2 separate regions of the Homo sapiens genome follow, and region 1 is linked to region 2. Evidence: promoter capture Hi-C in 16 types of primary human blood cells and fetal thymus (Javierre and others, 2016). All regions are on one chromosome and are shown on one strand. Each heading gives the region's core, a stretch centred on a gene start or on the middle of the fragment in contact. The rest is flanking DNA. Distances are from core to core; before and after follow the strand shown. Region 1 has its middle 8.1 kb from the start of STAG1-DT. Region 2 holds the start of SLC35G2 (solute carrier family 35 member G2).

Region 1 (6,067 bases), core at 3,100-5,599, 60 kb after region 2:
TCTGAAATCCAGCAGGGCAGTCAAATCTTAAAGCTCCAAAATGATCTCTGACTCCATGTCTCACATCCAGGTCACCTTGATGCAAGAGGTGGGTTCCCATGGTCTTGGGCAGCTCTGCCCCTGTGGCTTTGCAGGGTACAGCCTCCCTCCTGGCTGCTTTCACAGGATGGCGTTGAGTGTCTGCAGCTTTTCCAGGCACATGGTGCATTCTGGGGTCTGGAGGATGATGGCCCTCTTCTTCTCACAGCTCCTCTAGGCAGTGCACCAGTGGGGACTCTGTGTGGGGGTGCCCACCTGACATTTCCCTTCTGCACTGCCCTAGCACTGAGTGCCCCACCCCTGCAGCAAACTTCTATCTGGACATCCAGGCATTTCTATACATCCTCTGAAATCTAGGCAGAGGTTCCTCGATTCTTGACTTCTGTGCACCCACAGGTTCAACGGCATGTGGAAGCTGCCAACGCTTGGGGCTTGAACCCTCTGAAGCCATAGCCTGAGCTGTACCTTGGCCCTTTTTAGTCATGGCTGGAGTGGCTGGGACACAGGGTACCAAGTCTCTAGACTGCACAGAGCAGAGGGACCCTGGGACTGGCCCATGACACCTCCAGGCCTGTGATGGGAGGGGCTGCTGCAAAGGTCTCTGATGTGCCTTTTTTTTTCTTTTTTGAGATGAAGACTCTCTCTGTTGCCCTGGAGTGCAATGGTGCAATCTTGGCTCACTGCAACCTCCGCCTCCTGTGTTCAAGTGATTCTCCTGCCTCAGCTTCCAAAGTAGCTGGAACTACAGGCATGTGCCACCACAAATTTCTGCAGCCTGCTTGAATTTCTCTTTAGAAAATGGGATTTTCTTTTCTATCTCATTGCCAGGCTTCAAATTTTCTAAAGTTTTATGCTTTGTTTCCCTTTGAAAACTGAATGCCTTTAACAGCACCCAAGTCACCTCTTGAATGCTTTGCTGCTTAGAAATTTCTTCTGCCAGATACCCGAAATCAGCTCTCTCAAGTCAAAGTTCCACACATCTCTAGGGCAGGGACAAAATGCTGCCAGTCTCTTTGCTTAAACGTAACAAGAGTCACCTTTGCTGTAGTTCCCACAAGTTCCTAGTCTCCATCTGAGACCACCTCAGCCTGAATTTCATTGTCCATATCATTATCAGCATTTTGGCCAAAGCCATTCAACAAGTCTCTAGGGAGTTCCAAACTTTCCCACATTTTCCTGTCTTCTTCTGAGCCCTCCAAACTGTTCCAACCTCTGCCTGTTTCCCAGTTCCAAAGTTGCTTCCACATTTTTGGGTATATTTTCAGCAGTGCCCCACTCTTCTGGTACCAATTTACTGTATTAGTCCATTTTCACACTGCTGATAAAAGACATACCAGAGACTGGGCAATTTACAAAAGAAAGAGGTTTAATGGACTCATAGTTCCAAGTGGCAGGAGACCTCACGATCATGGCAGAAGTGAAAGGCACATCTTACACGGTGGCAGACAAGAGAAGAGAGCTTGTGCGGGGAAACTCCCCTTTACAAAACCATCGGATCTCATGAGACTTATTCACTATCTCGAGAATAGCACAGGAAAGACTCACCCCTCATGATTCAATTACCTCCCACAAGGTCTCTCCCACAACACATGGGAATTGAGAGAGCTACAATTCAAGATGAGATTTGAGTGGGGACACAGCCAAACCATATCGAAGACATAGATACTAGAAAAGAGTGGCTCTAACTTTGGAGTGCAGTAAAGGGAAGTCCTCAGTGGTACAGCAGAACTAAAGAACAATTAGATTAAATGGAAGCAGAAGGCCAAATGTTCTTCAGGGGTATGTACCAGGGGGCAAAAGAGAGAGCATCTCTGTAAATGGAAAAACTTGATATGATAAATTAGATAAAATATTCAGGAGGCAAAAGGGTAATTTAAAACTCCAGGAAAAACAAAGCCATACAAGTTTGCTTTTTTGTTTTTGTTTTTTTGAGACGCAGTCTTGCTCTTGTCACCCAGGCTGGAGTGCAACAGTGCGATCTCAGCTCACTGCAACCTCCGCCTCCTGGGTTCAAGTGATTGTCCTGCCTCAGCCTCCTGAATAGCTGGGATTACAGGCACCTGCCACCACGCTCAGCTAATTTTTGTATTTTTAGTAGAGACGGGGAAGTTTGCTCTCTGTTGTTGTTGTTTTGTTTTGTTTTTGAGATGGCGTCTGTCACCCAGGCTGAAGCACAGTTGTGCTATCATGGCTTACTGCAGCCTTGAATTCCCAGGCTCAGGAGATCCTCCCATCTTAGCCTCCTGAGTACCTGCGACTACAGGTGTGTGCCACCATGCCCAGCTAATTTTTTGTATTTTATTTTTGGAGAACCAGGATTTCACCATGTTTTCCAGGCTGGTCTTGAACTCTCAGGCTCAAGTGATCTGCTACCTCGGCCTCCCAAAGTGCTAGGATTACAGGCGTGAGCCACTCTGCCCAGCCCGTTTGTGATCTAAATATGAAGCAAAGATATTTGGGCAATTGTTAATAAGGGAAGATAATCCATTTGATCCTGATGCTTTCTATATTTTCCTTTGAGTGGTTTTCTAGTGGTTTTCACGGTGGTTCAGTGGTTCTGTAAAAGAGAAGATGTAATCCTAGCACACTCCTTAGTCTGGAAGTTGGCTATTAACTGTGTCAACCTATGGACAAAACACAAAAGACTTCTTGTGTTTAAGGGAGGTGAGAAAAAGGTGTGAAGGAAGAATGGTGGTGTTAATAGTGGAGAGTTGTAATACTACCTAAAGTTGAAATGTTATCTAGTGTTTTATCTTGTATTATTCAGAGTTACAAAGAAGCGTGGTGGCTCATGCCTGTAATACCACCACTTTGGGAGGCTGAGGCAGGCAGACCACCTGAGGTCAGTTTGAGAGAAGCCTGACCAACATGGTGAAACCCCGTCTTCACTAAAAATATAAAAATTAGCTGGGCATGGTGGCCCACACCTGTAATCTCAGTTACTCAGGAGGCTGAGGCAGGAGAATTGCTTGAACCTGGGAGGAAGAAGTTGCAGTGAGCCAAGATCATGCCACTGTACTCCAGCCTGGGCAACAGAGGGAGACCGTGTCTCCAAAAAGGAAAAAAAAAAAAAAAGTTACAAAGAAAACCAACAAAAGACGCAAACTTAATGCAACTGTTAAATATTGGACCAGTGGGTATTAACATAATCTTTATCCTTTGTAGCAGGGAGTCATTAGATTTTATTTAAAGTTGAATGAGCATATTTAGAAATATTGAAGTAATTCCAAACAAACAAAAACATGTAAAAGATGTTGTCCTTGGGCAGTGGCCCTGGCGGTAGAGTTAGGATGAAGCTTGGTTGCTTTTCAACGTTATGTTTTTTTGTCCTGTTTGATATGTTACAATTTATTTTGTATCCTTTAATTTGTTGCCATTGTGCATTTCTTTTACAGAAAATAAAATTAGAGGCTGGTTTTTCTGCCTATATGGAAACAATGTTTTAGATAGCTATTCTATCAAGAATGATTCCCAGGCCGGGGTGCAGTGGCTCACGCCTCTAATCCCAACACTTTGGGAGGCCGACGCCAGCAGATCACCTGAGGTTAGGAGTTTGAGACCAGCCTGGCCAATATGGTGAAACCCTGTCTCTACTAAACATACAAAAATTAGCTGGGTGTGGTTGTGTGCACCTGTAATGCTAGCTACTTGGGAGGCTGAGACAGGATAATCGCTTGAACCCGGGAGGCGGAGGTTGCAGTGAGCCAAGATCATGCCACTGCACTCCAGTTTGGGTAACACAGCAAGATTCCGACTTTAAAAAAAAAAAAAAAAGGATGATTCCTCAAAGTAGTCCAGGCCTCATACAGGTCTTTTGAAATAAGCCATAAAGTGGAATCCCAAGGACATCAAGAAACTTGGACTAAGAAAACGGTTGTTCTACTGGCACTTGAGTCTCTAAATAATAATAACTCTTAGCTCCTACCCACACTAGTTCCAGCCCTCTGCCTGTGAGTTTTTTTTTTTTTTTTTTTTGAGATGGAGTCTCGCTCTGTCACCCAGCCCGGAGTGCAGTGGCATGATCTCGGCTCACTGCAAGCTCCGCCTCCCGGGTTCACACCATTCTCCTGCCTCAGCCTCCCAAGTATTTGGGACTACAGGAGCCTGCCACCACGCCCAGCTAATTTTTTGTATTTTTAGTGGAGACGGGGTTTCACCGTGTTAGCCAGGACGGTCTCGATCTCCTGACCTTGTGATCCGCACCGCCTTGGCCTCTCAAAGTTCTGGGTAAGGATTACAGGCGTGAGCCACCGCGCCTGGCCAAAATTTCTTTTTAAAAAAATATCTGAGCAATTCCGATCCTCTGCTTTTTGAGAATAGAGTTTTGCCTATAACCAGGTTACTGATTCTGAAAGGGAAGGTATTCTGGATCCCTCTTACCATCTTATTACCAAGAACGGGGCAGAATTTATTGATTTAGTTATACATCTGTCTGTCTGCCTATCTGAGAAAGGGTCTTGCTGTGTCACCCAGGCTGGAGTGCAGTGGCATGATCATGGCTCACTTAAGTGATCCTCCCATCTCAGTCTCACAAGTAGCTGGGACTACAGGTGTGCGCCATCCTGCCCAGCTAATTTTTTATTTTTTATACAGATGGGGTCTCCCTATGTTGCCCAGATTGGTCTTGAACTTCTGGCCTCAAAAGATCTGACTGCCTCAACCTCCTAAAGTGCTGTGATTACAGGTGTGAGTCACTGGGCCTGGCTGCTTGCTCAGTTGTAGAAAGAATAGTGTTTTTAGGCTGGGCGCGGTGGCTCACGCCTGTAATTCAAGCACTTTGGGAGGCCGAGGCAGGCGGATCACCTAAGGTCAGGAGTTTGAGACCAGCCTGGCCAACATGGTGAAGCCCTGTCTCTACTAAAAATACAAAAATTAGCCGGGCATGGTGGCAGTCACCTGTAATCTCAGCTATTCGGGAGGCTGAAGCAGGAGAACTGCTTGAACCCAGGAGGCGGAGGTTGCAGTTTGCTGAGATCGCGCCATTGCACTCCAGCATGGGCAATAGAGTGAGACTCTGTCTCCAAAAAGAAAAAAAATTAAAAAAAAAAAGGAAAAATAATGGTTTAAATCCAGTAGGGAGGACACCATGGCATATTACTGCCACCAATTGGCAGCACACCTTAATTGCAAGAGTAGAAAAGAAGGGAAAATTATTTCTGATAATTGCAAAGGTCTACCAACGTAAGAAAGAACAAATGCCTTGTGACCAAGTGAAAAATGCAAAGGAATACTTGATTTGGGGGAGATTAAGATGAGACAGTGGTCATGATCCCTGAAACACAGGGTTTGTGGAGGTGGTAAAAATGAAGGGTGAGGAAGCTTGATCAGAAGACCTCTCTTTGCTCTAGATATCGAGCAGTTGCACTTGGAACTCTGAAAAAGGGGAAGGAAAGGGAAGAATGACGAATCAAATTTTACTTTTCTTTTTTTTTTTGAGACGGAGTCTCACTCTGTCAGCCAGGCTGGAATGCAGTGGCGCAATCTTGGCTCACTGCAATCTCTGCCTCATGGGTTTAACCGATTCTCTTGCCACCTGCCTCAGCCCCTCGAGTAGCTGGGATTACAGGTGTGCGCCACCACGCCCGGCTAATTTTTGTGTTTTAGTAGAGATGGGGTTTCACCATGTTGGCCAGGCTGGTCTCAAACTCCTGGCCTCAAGTGATCTGCCCACCTTGCCCTCCCAAAGTGCTGGGATTACAGGCATGAGCCACCGCGCCCGGCCCAAATTTTACTTTAAAAATCCTTTCTGTGTAAGAAATATCACCATTATCCTCACGCAAAAAAAGTTGATTTAATGTGTCTTACTCTAACTGTAAGGCCAATAGAATAACTGAAATCTTTTGTGTGCTAAAATTATCCAGAGAGAAAAAGACATAAGTCTGGCCCAAATTTTAAAGAAACTGTGCAATCTACACAATCAGAAACTCATTCTTTGGGTTATAAAGCAAAGTTCTTCATGTTATTGGTTAATAAATGTTAATTAGAACTAATGCATTTTCAGAAACACAATTTGGTATATTTGCAAGGA
Region 2 (6,240 bases), core at 1,064-3,563:
GATAGATCTCATGTTACATATTCTTTCCACAATAATTTTTTTAAGTCTAAAAAATTGGACATAAATGTTCATTATGGGATTGTTTAAAAAACTTACATTCTATCCACACAGATCAATATTATGCAACCCTTAATAATGATGACCTAGTTTTATGATGAAAGACATTAATTATAAATTATATAGCAAAAACGCAACCAATAGAGGATTGGTCCATTTAAAATGTATGCATGTTCATCTAAATGAAAATCTGTTTACAATGGTTTTCTATGTTTATGCATTTCTCTATTACCTAAAATTCTTATAATGAGCATATATTTTTTAAGGAAAAAACAATACCAATGTTTTTGAAAAATACAAATGTAAACTTTAAGAACTTCACACAAACCACATACCACCAATATATTTAAAATTGTCTGCATTATGATACATTTTAGTCATATGTTAAGATTATAAATTTCTATGATTATTTATATGTTGTTCTTATTAAAATTTACATTAATTCATTTTCCTTAAGCTTTCTTTAAGGAATTTTTTTGGTATCAATATCAATTTTACATCTTCCTAGACTTTTGTTCTGGAATGTAAATGAGTATAAATACTTAATTGCTCAGCCAAATACCAAACACTTCAATCCACAGGCTCTGTGCCTTTGGAACAGATGATTATGAAAATAAATGGCTCTGCAGAGTTCACATTTACTAGAAGTGTCAAAAAATAAAGATGGATTACAAAAGCTCTAAAAAATGTGTGGCTTGTAGTGTGTAATGGTTTTCAAAAGGGATGAGTGTATTTGCATGTGTGTTAGGTTTGTGCGTAAATGCACATACCTGTATCTTTCATAAGTATATGTGAGAATTCCTGTTTACGCTCATGGTGTGTACTTTCTCATAGGTAATAAAATCTGTTATGCATATGCTTATCTGTACCTCCAAGGCAAGCCACATTTGCTTTCGGGTTATGTTCAGGAAACCAGCCTCAACTTGTCTGAAAAGAGTTTCAGTGTTGGGCCTGCTCCACTCTGGCCACCAGCCATGGAGATGGGCTATTTTTGGCAAAGGTGCAGAGTAGAAGGGCAACGCAGGCCGCGGCCCAGGAAGTCAGTCGACGAGGGCGCGCGAGGCACTTCAGCACCACGGACATAGGCAAGCCTGAGCCAAGTCCTTTCCCGCGGAGGAAGATCGCTCCTCCGGAGCTACCCCCAGCCCTCTGGACCTACCCCCAGCCCTCTGGACCCACCCCCAGCACTCTGGACGTGGGGGGTTACTATCTCCAGGTCCTCGATCAACACTCGGACCCGAGCTTTCCGCCTCGCTCCTCGCGGAGCCGGGTGAAAGAAAACCTGGCCCGAGATGCAGGTCCGCGCTGAGCCTTCATCCGCCGCAACACGAGTCTCTTTCCTGCCGGCCCGCGCGACCCTTCTTCCCTCTCCTCCTCTCAAATGAGGCCAAATGGGTGCACGTGGCGTAGAAATTCTACAGCGCCCAGAGCACTGTGAGGAAAGATTCGCCTTTTCCTCCCCGTGGCTGCTGGAGGCTGTGCGGACTTGCCCTGAGCCTTCTCCGCCACTCTCGGCCGTGACGAGGCCCTTCCTCCACTAACCCTTGCCCTCGTCTTCCCTTGGGAAAAGATGTCTACAAACCGTCGATGTACCACGAAAATCTCAGCGCCCACAGACTGGCGTTCAAGAGTCATGGACATGAGACAAGAGAGTAATGGAAAATACAAATTCTTGGCCATATTTCTAAAATCATCCAGCCTTTTTTAAAACTTGTATTTGAAATTGATCCCATATGACGCCACAGTGACTCACCCCTTGCTTGGGTTGGCTACTGGGCGAGAGGAAAGCAACAGCCCCTGGCCTTCATCATGGACGCTGCAGGAGGGCCCAGACACGCGACAGCGGAAAGAAACGGGAAACCGGGCCGTAGCCGATGCTGGCCCTCCCGTCCCCGTGTCCCGGTTCTCCAGGAGGGCAGCACAGAGAAATGCGGGCCCCGCGGCCTTTCAGGCGTCGTGCAGAGCACCCCGAAGTCTGCAAAGCGGGCGGGGCGCGTCGCCCCCAGCCCGGCCCTTACCCAAAAAGACTGTTGTGCCCCTTAGGTGTGGCGGCTAAACGCGGGTGTGTGGAGTTCGGGGTCCGCTCTCATTCCCTTGTCGGGCGGCCGGGCAGGCAGGATCAAGGTCCCAGTCCGCCGCCGCCGACCGGCTCCCGGGGCCCGGTTACCTGCGTGTCGTGGCGAGGAAGGTGCCCCGGAGGCGACTGACGCGGGCGTGCCCTCGCCTGGGAAAATCGAGGCGGGCGCTGCCCGGAGTACTGCGGAGGGAGAGGGGCGCCGCCGCGCGGACTCTGCGCCTGCGCTCTCCGCCCTCCGCCGCCCCCACCCCACAACCTGACTGGCGCCGGAGTTGGAGACTGCGGGGGACGCTCAGGGTTGTGCCTGAACTGAAGGACTTCCTCTACCCGCGAGGTGGGAGGGTCCACGGGAAAGCGCCCGCCCGGGCCCCTCTAGCTTACGCCCTTGGAGGGCGCTTGTTTGAAGCAATTGCCTGTCTGCCAGGGCTACGTAGTCCGCTGCAAGTGGGCACGGAGGCAGTTTCTGTCCATTTCCACCCATTGTTTGCGCTTAAAAGTCGCAAGTCTATTCCTTCATGTTTAAATATGTGTCCAGCATCGGAAAATCGTGGTCCGGAAAAGTCTTCGGGCATCCCCGAGTCCACCCGCCATTTTACTGATAAGGTCTCTGAGGGAAGGGTCTTGACACTGCACAGCTGGTTCTTCTACCCAAGTGCATATGCCCCAGTCCCAAGTGGAATGAATATAGCCTCTTGGAAACAGACTGGTCATTAAAAGCAGTGGATTTGATGGGTCCAGGGGACAGGCAAGAAAGGGTAAGGGCTGAACCAAGGTGCTGGCTGTGGGAAAAAACAGGAGGTGCTTGCTGGTTTTTCCTCTGTCCCTTCAGACCCACTCTCCACTCTGCTCTGTGACTCAGGACTGACCTTTATGGGCTACGTCAACTATAATCTGGCTTTCAATTGGTTTTGGCAAGTGGGAGGCACCTGCAGATCAGAAGGCAGGATGTGATTCAGGACCTCCCCTGCATCCCCAGCGGGCCACCCTGTTAGCAGTGGCTATGTTCTTCATCTGAAAGCCATTACTCCCATCCTGTGGCCCTCTCCTGCAGTTTTCTCCAGGTTCTGGTTACCACTAACTACCCTTGCCCCTTCAGGCCTGGAGTGGGTAATGACGCCCAGAGGTTTCCTTTAACCCCATCCACACCTTTTTAAATAGTCCCTTCATTAAACTCTCCTCAACTATCCCATCTTTTCCCCACCTTTCCAGGACGCTATAATAGATTTTAGTCCATTGCGGTTGGCAAAATTCATGAGGACAAAAATATATGTAAAAGAAATACGGGGCTTTTAAAAGGCGAGAAGTCTTCCAGAGCCATCTTGACAGTTCCCTGGGCTCCAGGCAGCCAGCATGCTAGGTGGTCTCCCCACTGGGCCCCATAGCCCGAGGGTGCTAGTTTAGGTAGACCCAAGAATGGAATTCAGACTGCTCATAAACAGTGTGATCACCAAAGGGCTGGGGATCATTTCAGAGTCCAGCATAACAGGATTTTGGATTCCTCTTGAGGTAGAGAGACAATCTAGATCTTTATAGAGCAAGTGCTGGTGCTCTCCCAACTACAGCTGGGCTGCTTTTGAATGAGTCAATATTCTTAGGACACTTAAGAGAGTCCTGGAAACAGTGTCTGACAAGTGTGCTTAACAAGAAACTGCTGAGTGAGGCAATTGTCAATTGAGAGCCTCTGGCTGTTTCTGTAGAAAATCCAAGAATGTTCCCAAAGAGGGGGAAAAAGGCAAGAGGGTAGGAAGTCATTAAATTGCCTCTAGCACACTATGGTGTGCTTGGTCTGAATCCAAAATTTGACCATTTCTCGGGCTTGTAAAAACAACCAAACTGATTTGACTACTTTGATTCCTTCCCCATCCCCTTGAAAAACAAAACAAAAACAAAATAAACAAAAAACCCACCAATGCAGTATCTTAGCAAGACTTACCCAAAGGGACCCCCAGCTGTAGCTATTTGCAAATAAAATTAATGTCCAAGCAAACACACTATTTGTACTGAATACAAATGAGACCAGAACAGAACATTTAACATGTAAATATTTCCAAACTTTCACCCTTCCAAAGAGAAAGGATCATTTGTTGTTCAGACATGCATTAATTGTGCTGATCTCAATAAGGAATAGAGGTAAAGAAGCAAAAGGAGCCTCAGAAGGCTCGGCTGATCTGCAAGGCTCAGATTTTTTGTTTTGGAGAAGGTGGGATGGGGTGGGGATAAGGAAGGCGACCAGCAAAGTTTGAGTAAGGGAGTAAGAAAAAAAGACCTGGAATGAGCTGACTAGGAGAGATGGTTTCTGGGAGTTTTGAGAGAGTGAGACTAGGGATTTAGCACAGCTGACATTCTGAGTGACACCAAGGTATAGAAAGATATGAAAGAGGATTTTTAGACATTTTGTGATGTTTAATAAATGGAATTATTTTGTGCTATGATACATAGGGCTTTTCCTTACAAGTGTCAAAAACTTAAACTCAGACTGATTTAAGAAAAGGAGTATATTTGGCTTAATAACTGAAAAATCCATAGATAGGTAACTTCAGATATGACTAGATTCACGAATGCAAACATTGACATCAGGACATGATCTCTCCTTTCCTCTTTGTTGACATCAAAGAGTTTGTTTTCACATAGTGATTTCTTGCCACCTCCCCACCTTTCCCCAGTGTTCAACTTATATCATCTTTATAGCTAACCATTCCAAAAGAAGCAGAGCACTTATTTCCCAGTAGTTCCAATAAAATATTGAGCTTATGTTTCATTAGCAAACTCATATACCTTAATCTAGAGACAGGGCCAGGCGCAGTAGCTCATGCCTGTAATCCTAGCACTTTGGGAGGCCAAGGCAGGCGGATCACCTGAGGTCAGGAGTTCGAGACCAGCCTGACCAACATGGAGAAACCCGTCTCTATTAAAAATACAAAATTATGGCTGGGTGCAGTGCCTCACGCCTGTAATCCTAGCACTTTGGGAGGCCAAGGCGGGCGGATCATGAGGTCAAGAGATCGAGACCATCCTGGCTAACATGGTGAAACCCCATCTCTACTAAAAAATCCAAAAAAATTAGCCAGGCATGGTGGCGGGCGCCTGTAGTCCCAGCTACTCAGGAGGCTGAGGCAGGAGACCGGCGTGAACCCAGAAGGTGGAGCTTGCAGTGAGCCGAGATCACACCACTGCACTCCAGCCTGGATGACAGAGCGAGACTCCGTCTCAAAAAAAAAAAAAATTTAGCCAGATGTGGTGCCACATACCTGTAATCCCAGCTACTCAGGAGGCAGAGGCATGAGAATCGCTTGAACCCAGGAGGCGGAGGTTGCAGTGAGCCCAGATCATGCCATTGCACTCCAGCCTGGGCAACAAAAGCAAAACTCCATCTAAAAAAAAAAAAAAAAAATCTAGAGACAGAGAATAGGGGAGAGTTCATCCTCCAAAAGAAAATCAAGATTCTTTTTACCAGAACAAACCATATAGTGATGGGCAGGTGAAAAAAGAAAATATCCACTACAGGTACATCTCAAAACAACTTTGGTTAAGATGTATATTGCTTTCCAGTATTTTTTGTGGATACCAAACTAGTGTTTCTTTTGAAAATGACAGCGAGGCAGCTGAACTGTTTCTTTAACTTAAAAAATAAGGTGAAATGTCAGCCGGCACAGTGGTTCACGTCTGTAATCCCAGCACTTTGGGAGACCAAGGTGGGCAGATCACTTGAGGTCAGGAGTTCGAGACCAGCCTAGCCAATATGGTGAAACCACGTCTGTAGTAAAAATACAAAAATTAGCCGGGCATGGTGGTGCATGCCTGTAATCCCAGCTATTCGGGAGGCTGAGGCAGGAGAGTCACTTGAACCCAGGAAGCAGAGGTTGCAGTGAGCTGAGATCACACCATTGCATTCCAACCTGGGCATTGCAGCAAGTCTCTGTCTCAAAAAAAAAAATCAAATAAATAAAAAACAAAACAAAAAATAAAGTGAAATGTCTTGCTGTTCCTATACAAAGAGATACCAGAAAATATTCTTAGAATGTATTTTAGTCTGAGTTTTCATATACTCATAATTTTTATTTAAGTGGCCCCTTTTCTGATCCCAGCAAAGAACTAGAATCCTCAAA

What was found. Contacts are between HindIII fragments. The CHiCAGO score rates a contact against its expected background, and 5 or more counts as called.
Region 1: a contact is called between a fragment that was not itself captured here and the fragment with the promoter of SLC35G2 in region 2, in 1 of 17 cell types (megakaryocytes). The highest score is 5.4, in megakaryocytes.

Annotation. Positions count from the first base shown.
Region 1 is chr3:136,757,755-136,763,821 of GRCh38, reverse strand. No RefSeq gene overlaps it. Among named protein-coding and RNA genes, the nearest start is that of STAG1-DT, 8.1 kb to the right of the region's middle. The HindIII fragment of the contact is 2,023 bases long and covers 3,338-5,360 here.
Region 2 is chr3:136,815,199-136,821,438 of GRCh38, reverse strand. It overlaps SLC35G2 (solute carrier family 35 member G2), which reads right to left and starts at 2,313. Exons shown (of 2, transcript NM_025246.3): 1 at 1,811-2,313. RefSeq lists silencers at 1,116-1,165, 2,229-2,288. The HindIII fragment of the contact is 16,057 bases long and covers 517-6,240 here.